Regions from separate parts of the Homo sapiens genome. Here regions 1, 2 and 3 are each linked to region 4. The links are contacts of gene promoters, found by promoter capture Hi-C in human tissues and cell types (Jung and others, 2019). All regions are on one chromosome and are shown on one strand. The core of a region is centred on a gene start or on the middle of the fragment in contact, and the rest is flanking DNA. Distances in the headings are between cores, read along the strand shown. Region 1 overlaps TNS1 (tensin 1). Region 2 overlaps RUFY4 (RUN and FYVE domain containing 4). Region 3 overlaps TNS1 (tensin 1). Region 4 holds the start of TNS1 (tensin 1).

Region 1 (2,870 bases), core at 236-2,735, 68 kb after region 4:
AGACTGTGATTTAGGAAGGGCATTTGGGCCACTGTGACGGCTGTACTGGGCAGGGGAGTCCTAGGGGCAGGCCTCAAGCCAGGGCCTGGGTTCCTGGAATCCTATGTTCAAATTCCTCAGCCCTGGGGCTGGAAAATCCTCTCCCAAGTCACTTCATCTCCCTGATCCCTCTGGGCTTCCTTCCAGCATACCATCCTCCCCTCCTGGATTGGGAGGCCAAGGAGGCCCCTGAAATCTCCTTCCTGGGAGATCTTTCAGGCCAGGAGAGAGCCATCCTTGGCAAGTCTTCACACGCAGCCCTGGGATGGATGAACTGCAGCAGGCAGGAGTGAGGGTAGACTGTAGGCAGCTTATATTTTTAAGGCACCGAGAGGATCCTTTGGGGGCCTCCTTTACCATCTGACCTGGAACACAGTAGCCCCTTACTGTTTGTTGAATGAATGAATGAATGAACGAACAGGAGTGTTCCCTGGTCAGGGTGGAGGAGCCTGATTGCTCGGAGGCAGCCATGCCCAGCCTGGCTCTACGTGGCCTGGTGAGTGCAGAGAGTGGCTGCCTGTCCAGAGCTAGATGGAATGTTGAGTGTCTCAAAGGCCAGGTGCCTGGCATGTCGCAGGTGGTCAGGGACTGTGTGTTGATGAAGAAGAGGGAATTTCAGCAGCGTTTATTTCCTAGAGCAATGACCTCTCATGAGGCAGTGTGATGTGGGGGTCACCTTCACAGTGTCTGCAGCCACACGGTCTGCATGTGAATCCTGACCCCATCTCTTGCAGGCTATATGACTATGAACAACTTACCTGACCTGCCAGTGCTTCCCTTTGCTCACCTGTAAAATGCAGGAAACAAATAGAGCGGGTCTGGCATGCAGGCTGTTCTGCATAAACCTTGGTGATTGTTATTGCTGTTTTTGTTATGGTTATTACTATTATTGATACAGTGGGAGAGAGTGGGGCTGGCAGCAGGGGTTTCTTGGCTGGGATGAGTGCAACTGCCCAGAGTGGGAGGGGAGAGCACAAGAGATAGATGAGGCTCCTCTGGAGGCTTAGAAGGAATTCGGTGGCTCACGAACTGCTTCCACCACCACACATGTGGCTGCCTCTGCTGTGGCCGGCTGAGCTAGGCCAAGCGTGGGAGTGGAGGCAGTGGTCAGGTCTGGATTCCAGGCTGGAGCCCTGGGAGAGCAGAGGCGAGCCAGGGTGAGGGGTGGGGGCTGGGGGAGGAGAGGTGATTGGAGAGGAGGCCATGACTCTCCCAAGTTCCCAGCTGGGACCCTAAGAATTCCTCCCATCATCTCCTGCCAGAGGGCCTGGCCCTTGAGCTCCAGAGCCTCCGGAGGGCCTGCAGTCCATCTCCCTGCCTCCTGGGCAGACTGTTCTGAGTAGGTGGCCTGGAGTCCAGTGCCCCTTCACTGTTGGAAAGTGATTCCTCCCCAGTAACCGCTGTCTGGCTGCAACTCCTTCCTCCCCCTCCTCACCCTGCCTTCAGATCTCCCGTCTTCAGCACTGCTTTGCAACAGGAGGGTGACAGAGTCAACTTCAGGGGCCTGCTCTGACTTGGGGCAGAGAGAGAGGTCTGTGTAGTGCCGCGGAAGGACCTGTGGCAGGGGCGTCAGGTGACCTGCTAGTCCCTTTTGGCACTGTGTGACTTCAGGCAAATTGCTTCCACTTTTTGGGCTTTGGTTTCCTCAATTGCGAAATGAGAAGTTCGAGTTAGGGGCGTTCTCTCTTTTCAGCAGTGCTGAAATTCTGTAAGTGCATGGATCTTTCTGAACAGAGAGGCTCCTAGTCTTGGGGCCTTTGGCAGAGCTGTCCAGCATCGAGGTGGGATCCTGTTGGCTCTTCAGGCATCTGCTGGGATGCCATCTGAAATGCTGGGGAGGTCCTTCCAGCACTGGAATTGGAACGTTCTTTGCCCAGTGACCACTCCTCCAGGCAGCTTGATTTCTTGGAACAGAGCAGAGGGCAACAGCTGTCAGGGTTGGGCTGGCCAGAATCTCCCGTCTCTGTCCCAGTGACTCAGGTGGGGATACGCTTGGCAGGATTGGAGCCAATGAAGCAAAGGAGGGGACTGGGGAAGATCTGCTGCCTGCCTTGGCCACCCAAAGGGAACAGAGTGGGAGGAAGTGATGTGCTGGGGATGGGGGTGCAGAGGCAAAGTGAGTAACAGTTGTGAGTAATGGCTCAGTGTCTCCACTGGGTAGGTGGCTCCTAGACTGCACAGAGCTGTCTGGGGCTCCGGAAATTCTCCCCGGAGGCCCAGCCACTGAATCACAGCAGCCTGAGCTCCTCCCTCCCTGTCCTCCTTAGGAGCTGGGGGTCCCGGCCAGCAGGGTGCCACACCTCATCCCCTCTGCCTCTCTGTGCTTCTCTGGATCAGCCCCTCCCATCACCTATGCCTTCACACCCCCTCAGCTCCATCGATGCTCTGTCTTGTCTTCCAAGCATCCAGGTGACTTGGCTTGCCTCAAGGAGTGTAGAATTTGCAGTCTGGCTGTCCTGGGTTTGAGTCCCAGCTCAACCACTCATCGCTGTGTGACCTTGGCCAACACATTTCTCCGCTGTAAGGTTCAGTAGCCTCATATGTGAAAAGAGGCTACTGCTTGTTGAATCTCTTGTTGGAAGGATTAAATGGGATAATCTGTATGAAGTACATGTTCTTTGTATGTGTTCAAATAATATGGTTGTCCCGAGCCCTAAACTCTGTTTTGCCCTTCCTCACCACCTCTGTCCCTAAAATTCCAGCTACCTGTGCTTCCACCCCATAATGTTCAGGCTGCGTATCCTCCTATCTACTCCACCCTATTGTTTGTGCACCTGCTCTTCCATTTCTGACACCTCCCACCCAGCTTCTGCCCGTGTGCCTTATCCTTT
Region 2 (2,812 bases), core at 19-2,518, 74 kb before region 4:
GCTCCTGGGCCTCTCTCACCTGCGAAGCAGACAGCCAGAAGGCTTCCTAGTGATTCAGGCTGAATCACAGCTACTCAGGCTCTGCTGGGGTCCGACTGGTGTCTGTTGGACCTGGGGCAGGTGTTAGCCATGTGGGAGAGAGAGACAGGGGCAGGTGGGCAGACTGACGTACCCGGAGACCACAGGAGAGAGACACAGAGAGGCTGAGTCAGGCCACGGAAGATCTCTGCAGTGAGAAGAGACTTTAAAAAATAAATTATGGGCTGGGTGTGGTGGCTCATGCCTGCAACCCTAGCACTTTGGAAGGCTGAAGCTTGAGCCTAGGAATTTGAGACCAGTCTGCACCATGTAGTGAGACCTCGTCTCTACAAAAAGAAAGAGAGAGAGAGAGAGAGAAACTGAGACCTGAGAGACTGAGGACTGAGGGGGGATGGTAGAGACAGACAGCGTGCTGTGGGCCCCTGAGGTCAATGTGATGACGGAAGATGAAGACACTGGATGGTGAGAGACACTGAGCAGGAGAAACGGAGAGACTGAAGTGCAGGCACTCGACATGCTGCCTGAATGGGGCGTCTGAGCCCACTGGTTCTGGAGTCAGCTGCAGGCCTTGAATCTCAGCTCCCCCGCTAACTAGCCAATGGTGGGTGAATTGTGCAGCATCTTTGAGCCTCAGCTTCCTCCTCTATAAAATGGGGGTTCTATAGAACTCATCTCATAAGGGTGTTACGCAGAAGCACCGACAGCAGTGCCTGGGACGTAGTAAATGCTTAGTAAATGATAGCTGTGATTATGAGAGGGTGAGAGGTGGCATAACAGGAAGAAGCAAATGAGACACAAAGAAACTGAGTAAAAAAGGGAGACAGAAAGAGATGGGGGAAAGAAGTCCAGTGGAGTAGGGAGGCAGAGAGGGTGAAAAAGAGAGAGGAGCTGCCCAGGGGAGGCAGCAGAGGGAGGCAGGGGTGAGGGTGGGAAGGAAGCAGGCCAGGAGGCGGGGCCTTTCCTGGGGCTGCTCCTGCTCTGGGAGACCTACGAGAAAGGGATGCACAGAGGAGGGAGGGTGGAGCCCTGGGATCAGGAGCAATGCCCTGCAGGCCTCAGATCCCAAAGGTGTGCCCAGTCCAGGGCCTGGTGCATGGGAGGTTCTCACAAGACCTCACTGGCTTGACCGTGATTGACAGCAGGACCTAGGGAGCACTTCCAGGTGCCCTGTGCTGTGGGTTGCCAAGGTTACCTGCTGAGCTGCTCCCGAAGTGCCTGCAGCTCCCCCTCCTGCTCCCTCAGCAGCTGCTCCTGGCGCTGGGCCTGCTCCTCAGCCTTCCGGAGCCCAAGTCTGAGGCTCTGTGGGGTGGAAGGAGGGGAGAAGGAGGCTGAAGGAGAAGGGCAGAGACCCCAGTGCTGGGGCTGACCTGAACAACATTCCCGAGAGACCCCAGGCCATGCCCTGGCAGGGCTGGGGACAGTGCTGGGAGCTGTGATGCCTGGCTCTGTCCTAGGCCCTGCTTCTGGGTGTGCCTGGGCCACGGTTTCTTCCTTCACTGAAGGGTGGAAGTTGTAAACTCAGAAACTTGCAAGTTCCTGGGTGGAGGCCGAAGGGAGGCTTGGTGACAATCTTGAGTGACCTCCAGGAGAAGCATCCACCACAGGAGCAACTAGGTGGGCTCTGCAACAGTAGAACTTAGATTTCGGGAAGAGACTTACCATCATGAGGATATGGAACTGGAGAGAGGAAGTGACTGCCTGGAAGAACTGCTGGGAAGGGATCTCAAACTCCAAAGCCTACTGGGGCTGGGCAAGAAGTATTGCCGAATAAAGTGGGTCTAGCGTGGGGCAATAGGGAGAGGCGGGGACTGTGGGGACCTGAAGAATGTATGGCTTTCAAAGGCATCCCCAAATAATAATCCTGAGTGGGCCAATAAAAATTGACCCGTGGGAGGGAATGGTCCCAGGCTACCATTGCAGACCCTCATCTGTGGGCCAGGTCAGACAGGGGCAAATAACCAGGTATGGAGCTCAACTGTTCTCACCTTGATCTCGTCCTGCAGGGACACCTCGGCTTGCTCCTCCCTTCTGGCCACAAGGGTCACTTCTGTTTGCACTTGTGGATTCTCCACGGTAGAGTCTTCCTTTGTTGCGTGTCCCTGAAGGACCCAGGGCTCCCCCAGGATGCTAGAGCCCCCCGACCCCTGCCTGCTCCCTGATACTGCTCCCTCTACAGCCCCTCTGGGGCTGGGCATCAGCAGCCTCTGGACGTGACTCCACTCTGCTTCCTTTTTGTGAGTCCCCTCTGTTGTTCTCTGACCCTCTGCAACCAGCAGAACCCCTGTGACCTCAGCCTCCATCCCTATCACCTCCTTCTGAGTGCCCATAGCCCCCTTCCCCTGTCCCTGGGTGCTGGGTGTTGAGTTCCCCAGGAAGATCTCAATCCATGGGGCTCTTTCCTCCTGGTCTAGCTGAAGCTCCTTCCCTTCTGGCTCCCACATGCTCTGGGGGTACCTATGTTTCCTGGAACTTTCCCCCTTCTTTTCCAAAAAGAAAGGAAGATGCCTTTGTTGCTGGGACCTGGGAAGCCCTGCCAGCTGCTGTCCACTGGGTGCATCTTGCAGACAGATGGCTTGACTGGTGTGTGAGTCCTCAATCTGGACATTTTCAGGCCCTCCATATGCGGCTGGGATCTGTGGAGAGGACCCAAAACCAGTCATCCCTCTCAGCACCAATTCACTGACCTGGTGCCATTAGATTAGGCCACAGTGCTAATCTAATCAGCTTGCTAAATAGATAGGTACCAGGTCCTCTCACTGGAAGCTTTGATTTA
Region 3 (2,965 bases), core at 399-2,898, 91 kb after region 4:
TGGCCTGGGCCTGCTGGGAGGGGATGTGGCCCCTGGAGCAACTGAGCAGATATACTTCAGGGTCCCAGGCTCCACTGCCAGCATCCTCTGCCAGCCCCATCTGCTCAGTGCTCTTTCTCTAGCCCTCACCCATCGGCTCCCACTTCCTCAAGACTGAGCGAGGGGAGAGCACAGGGCTCTGGGAGGTGCAGACCTCAGAGGTCTTAGACTCGGAGGCGCAGATCTGATCTCACATTGAGCGGCCACCCTCCCTGGAAACTCCGTCTCCTCATTTGCAGAAAGGTGTTCAAAGTGCTCCTTCTAGAGCCCTTGCTTATGACAGTGAAGGGAGGTGATGCCTTGGGAGGCACGGGGCACGGAGAAAGCGCTCTCTCCCTTTGCTGCCTTCTGCCGCTGCCGCTGCCTTGTTTTCGTGATTAGGCTGTTGATAGAGGGCTCTCATAGGTCTGTATGTGGGGACGATTAAATGGGGCCGCACCTCTAACGTGCCATCTCACAGCCTGCCATGCTCCAAGTGCCCCATAAACTCTGTTTCCCTGCCCTTCCCTTCTGTTTTTAGCCCCCTCCTTGCATTTGCTTATGATTCTATTTTTGAAACAAGTGAGCCTAGAATAACTTTCTCTGGGTCCTGGGTCTGAGGCCATTCCAGCCCTCGCTAGCCCTCCCTGCCAGCTCCCAGTTCCTTCCCCTCTTGATAGGCAGTGCGATGGTGACCTCGCAGTTCATTGCCATGGCAGTAGATCTGGTCATGGGGTGGTCTTTTTGGCCCCCAAGCCCCCCAGATTCCAGGCCTCCCAGGGGGCAAGAGTCGGGAGAGTTGGAGGGTGGAAAGGGGCAGGGTGTAAGGAATTTCCGGACGGAATGTTCCTCCGGAGGCTGAGCCCGCATTCTGCGCACCCTCCTCCCCAATCCCCTTCCCCTCGGCCCTGGGCTCAGGCATGGGAACCTCCCCCACCCTGTTGTTTCCTTCCTCTAAAACAGCAGCACAGATACATTTTTCCCAGCCCACCCTCCTTGCAGGCCACTAACCTGTCCTCCTGCGTGAGCCTCTAGGCCGTCCTGGCAGCCACCCCCCAACCTTCCAGCAGAAAGGCCCCTCCTGGCCCCACCTTGGGCCCATGCAGTGGGGGAGGGTAAAGGCATGTGTGGAGAGGGCATATGTGTCTTTTTTTGGAAAAAAATTGAGGAAAGGATGTGGAGCTTCCCTTATCCACCCTGTGGTTCCCGACCCCTCGAATTCAGGAAGTTCTCTCTGTTGTCTGATCTCAGTCTTTCCTATGCAGCCCAGTTCCTATTCTTTCTGTGGAAGTATGGTTAAGAAGTGTCTTCCTACTGAGGACCTGGACAGAAGTCCTGCTATAACTGGCCTTCAATTTTCAGAAAGCTTGTTCCCCACAGGAAGGCAGTTATCAGAGGAACTGCCTGGAGATCATTGCCAGGGAGAGGGGAGATAGCATGATGGGGAGGTGAGGAGCAAGGTTCAAACAGCAGCTCTCCTACCGACTGGCTGTGGAACCTTGGGTGAGTCACTACATCTCCCAGGCCCTCAGTTTCCTAAACTGTACCCTGCGGTAATGCTCGCCTCCCAGGGTGGTTGTGAGGACTGGTGATCAGGAAAGCAAAGAGCCCAGTACTGTGTTCCGGGCATTGCCATCCCTAAATGAATAGTTGTAATTCTTGCAATAAGTTTATGAAAAGGCATCTCAGGGCCAGGGCCAGGATGAGGGCCAGAGAGTGAGGCCTCTAGGGTGCAAGATCTGAGGAGTCATCACTCTCAGGATTATGCAAGTGCACTCGCAGGACCTCAGAGTGAGAGCAATGCCTTCTTAAATGTTGTGCCCCAACATTCGCCCTAGTCCCCACCTTGCTTTGCTCTAACTGCTGGTTTTGGGACTCTAGAGCAGAGCAGCCCGCTAAGAGCAGGGCTTGGTTTTCAGGTAGTGATAGGTTCAAACCCTGCCACCTGCTTCTAAGCTGGATTCTGAGTTGTCCCTCCTGGGAGGTAAGGGGGGACTCTGGAAGACCCCTGGTGGAACAGTGAGTCAGCTGCTCTCACTTTGGAAAGCCTGGGGACCTTAAGCTCCAGGCTTTGTCCTGGGACTGGGCAGTGGGTGGAGACAGACATAGGGGTCTGTCTGTGTTTGGCCTCCACCCACTTCATCCCTTTGCAGCTGACTTGAGGAGGAAGGAAAAGAAGAGCCTGCAGGGAGGCACCAGCTCACCCTGCCAGCAGGATGGCTGGGGGCCAAGGGTGAGGGCAGTGAGATGAGCCTGGCAGTGGGCTTTACAAACCTGGGAACCAGCTCCAGCCATGCCACAAACCTCACCATGAAAGGCTGGGCAGATCAGACCTCCCTGGACCTCAATTTCCCCATGTGTGAAACAGGGGGATGGAGGAGATGATGTCTTAAGTCCCTCTCAGAGCAGATGTCCCCAGGAGTGGCATGCAAGGATGGTTGTGTGTGTGTGTGTGTGTGTGTGTGTGTGTGTGTGTGTGTGTGTGTGTATGTGTATGTGGTAGCTGTAGAAACATCCTGGCCAGGAATGGAGTGAAGATGAAGGTCAGGGGCTTTGGTTCCAGAGGGTCCCGGGAGTGCCAGCTGGACTCATTAGGCAGTGTCAATGGTAGGGCTTCCCACTGGCCCCGGCCTCCCTGCAGGGCCTGGGGCAGTGGCAGCCTCAGGGGATCCTGCCCTCCTGTTACCAGTCCCATGCCTTTTTCCTTCCCAGTAGCCCCAAGGCTGGAAGTGTTGGGAAACAGAGAGATAGGACTTGAATCCTGGGAGAGTTGGGTTGGAGGGCAGAGGAGGGTCGGGCAGCATGCATGCTGGCTGTGTTTGCAAACACTGCAGGACAACTGGGATGTTTAGATGGTGCAGGGGGTGGGGACTTGGAAATTTTTAGCTCCTCAGAAAGCATCTCAACCAGTAAGCTGAAGGCATCTGAACTCTGGCAAGCGTCACCC
Region 4 (2,700 bases), core at 182-2,681:
CGGTATGTGGTGCTGACAGACAGCGGCATGGCATGGCCTTGGGTGAGTGGGGGGGGGAGGCAGGGGATCTGTAACCCTTCGTGCATGTGGCCCCAGGGCATGTATAGCACAGTGTGCATAGGAGGCCAGGCAAGAGAACTTTTCTTGCTAAGTGACTCAGTCTAGGAACGAGGTCTCCAAGTGCCTACTCTGGGAGGGCTCTTATGTGTTGACGTGAGTTGGACTGTGTCCTTGTGTGTGTGTGTGTCCACAGGAGGGTGTGGGGCTGAGCCCTCCCTCCTTCTCCTGGACAGCTCCAAAGAACAGAGCGGGTGATTCACTGGCCCCCACCCACCCTCAGTTGGTCCAGCCAAGGCCAGAGCTCAAAGAGGAAGGGTTTTTTTTGGAGGGGAACGTGGTGGTTCCAGACAATGAAGGCCTGGGGCAGACTTTGCTGGATTCCCCCTTAGTGCTCCGTGGGAATACTTTTGGGTTTTGACCCAGCCTCCTTTCCACCCTCTAGACCCCCAACAATTGTCCCTGGGCAGAGGTGGGGGCGAGGGGAGGGGAGGGCTGGTGGGCAGGGGACACTGAGGGGAAGAAATAGGCCTGTGGAATGGTGGGAGGGGAGAACTGGGCCCAGGGAGGGGGAGAGGGGAGGAGGGGGAGGAAGTGGGGAAATGCAAACCAAATGTTGGCCCCGGGTACAGTCAAGAAAAACACACTCTCGCGGGAGCCTGGAGCGGGGCTCCCTTTCAGAAGGGCAGGAAAGGCTGGGACAGATGTTTGCAGGAAAGAAAGAAAGAAGGGGGAAAAAAAAAGAAATAGGAAAAAAATTGGAATGAAACCCACAGCCTGGGGGCAGGGCCATTCTTCCCCAGTCTCGGGCCCTATTTCTTCTGTGTTAAGGCCTGTCCTGGGCTCTGAGCTTGGCGCGTGGGCACCAGAGTCTGTCCCAGTCTGTGTGTGCAAATGCATGTGTGTTCCGAGGAGGCCAGGAAGGCAGGCACGGGTACTCAGAGAAGGGGAGGGGCCAAGGCACCCTGAGTGTGCTGATTGTGTGGGCCTGGGGCTGTCTGTTCATCCATCAGTGGTCTGGAGGGTTCCAGGAGTGAAGGCCCCCAGGCTGGTTTGCCAGGGGCGGGGGTCTGCAGTGAGGAGGGAGGACTCCAGGCCTACCAGCACCAGATCAGAAGACTGAGGAGCCTTGGTGGCACACAGGGGTTGTGTGTCCGGGGGTGGGGGGCACGGCCTGGGGGGGCCCTGCCTCTGGTAGCTTTCCCTTTTCCCTGTCCCCTTTACACCCCCTGCAAAGCAGGGTTCCTGACCCTCAAGGCCACCGGTGGAGCCTGGGAGGAGGGAGGAGAGAGGAGGCTGGGACGAGGGGTGGAGTGGGGGGAGGAGGAGGAGGAGGGAGGGTGAGCTGGAGGCAGCAGGGCGAGAGGCCCAGCAGATGCTGGCGGAGCCGGAGCAGCCGCGGACTCAGAGAGCCCTTCTGCCAGCGCCGCGGGGACTCTAGCTTCAGGGGCTCTTCACAGGCCCTGGGCGTGCCTCAGTGACGGGACCCAGCAAAGATGACGTGGATCTGTCTGTCCTGCATGCTCTGGGTAGGTCTGGCTGCTTTAGCTGCGACGTTACTCTTCCTCAAACCCCCCGCCCCCCACCGGCCCCTGCCACCTTATCCTTTTGCTGAGAGCCCGGGGTCGGGGGGTGTCAGTCTTGAAGGAGGGGCCTTTCTGTCTCTGACCTACAGAAGGACAGACTGACTTGAGCAACCCTCAGCCGGAAGACTTTCCCCACCAACAGGGCCCAGGCCCAGGGTCCCGGGTCAGTACATCCCCTGCCCCACCCCCCCACCCCCCAATGGAGTCCCAGAGCTGTAAGTGGAAGGAGGCCACAGAGAAGTTTGCTTCTCTTTAGAGCCTTTCCTCCCGACTTGCATCCTACAATGGGGTGAAAATTCTTCACCGCCCCCCCTCAGTTGCTGAGCCCAAGATCTTGAGGAGGAGGCAGTGGTGGGGCTGGGGAGCAAAGAATAGTAGTCCAAAATATTAAGTCTGGAAGAGCTGGGCTGTGGGAGAATTCTCAGAGTCCATCCCTTTTATTCCTTCTACACCCAGTTTCAGCTTCCACCCACTGCCATCCCTTCCTCCACAGCCCTCCCCTGCTACCAAGACCTCTCCATCCTGGAGGAGGGAGCCATGGCCCGCTCTTCCCCCTTTCTCTCTTGGCTCCAGGTTCAGGGAGGTGGGTTTCAGGATGGGGATGCCAGGGGGGCCAGCAGAGAGGCCTGGGGGCCACGTGGTGAAGGTTAAAAGTCTTAAGGCCAGACCTGGGCTGAGGCTCCTGGGTAAAGGGGGATGGGAGAGGGCTGCCTGCTGCAGAAGGGCTGGGGGTCAGAGGAGGAGAGGACCCCTTCCTCAGAGGGGCTCCTGTGGGGCTGTCTTGGCCAGGCAAAGGCATGCATGGGGTCAGGAGGGTGAGGAAGTCGTCCCTGGCTGAGGTTACTGTTGGGCTCTGAGAGAGTGATGGCTGGTTTGGGGGAGGGGGCTTCAGGGCTGTGATCCAGATGTGGCCTTTCCTGTCCCTTTCCTTGTTCTGGCCAGTCCTCGGGAGGGCCCTCTTGGCCCAGGCAAGCCCATGCTGGGGGCAGTTGTGGGAACACAAACTCGGGCAGCCAGGTGTCCTCTGGGCAAAGAAAGAAAGGGTGGGGGAGGGGGC

The links. Contacts are between HindIII fragments. The study calls those that stand out against the background at their distance.
Region 1: a fragment that was not itself captured here is called in contact with the fragment with the promoter of TNS1 in region 4 in 2 of the 25 tissues and cell types used here (IMR-90 fibroblasts and ovary).
Region 2: a contact is called between a fragment that was not itself captured here and the fragment with the promoter of TNS1 in region 4, in 2 of the 25 tissues and cell types used here (bladder and spleen).
Region 3: a contact is called between a fragment that was not itself captured here and the fragment with the promoter of TNS1 in region 4, in 2 of the 25 tissues and cell types used here (adrenal gland and pancreas).

What each region holds. Positions count from the first base shown.
Region 1 is chr2:217,933,778-217,936,647 of GRCh38, reverse strand. All of the region lies in intron 3 of TNS1 (tensin 1), which reads left to right. Among named protein-coding and RNA genes, the nearest start is that of MIR6809, 35 kb to the right of the region's middle. RefSeq lists enhancers at 1-200, 1,157-1,666, 1,667-2,175, 2,845-2,870. The HindIII fragment of the contact is 4,943 bases long and covers 1-2,870 here.
Region 2 is chr2:218,074,953-218,077,764 of GRCh38, reverse strand. It overlaps RUFY4 (RUN and FYVE domain containing 4), which reads right to left. Exons shown (of 13, transcript NM_198483.4): 9 at 2,025-2,672; 10 at 1,232-1,338. Among named protein-coding and RNA genes, the nearest start is that of RUFY4, 7.1 kb to the right of the region's middle. RefSeq lists an enhancer at 1,236-1,737. The HindIII fragment of the contact is 3,853 bases long and covers 1-2,812 here.
Region 3 is chr2:217,910,255-217,913,219 of GRCh38, reverse strand. The region is part of intron 4 of TNS1 (tensin 1); the gene reads left to right. Among named protein-coding and RNA genes, the nearest start is that of MIR6809, 11 kb to the right of the region's middle. The HindIII fragment of the contact is 9,234 bases long and covers 1-2,965 here.
Region 4 is chr2:218,001,726-218,004,425 of GRCh38, reverse strand. TNS1 (tensin 1) reads left to right here and starts at 1,431. Exons shown (of 33, transcript NM_001387777.1): 1 at 1,431-1,586. The coding sequence starts at 1,554. RefSeq lists enhancers at 146-245, 1,986-2,486, 2,487-2,700. The HindIII fragment of the contact is 30,357 bases long and covers 1-2,700 here.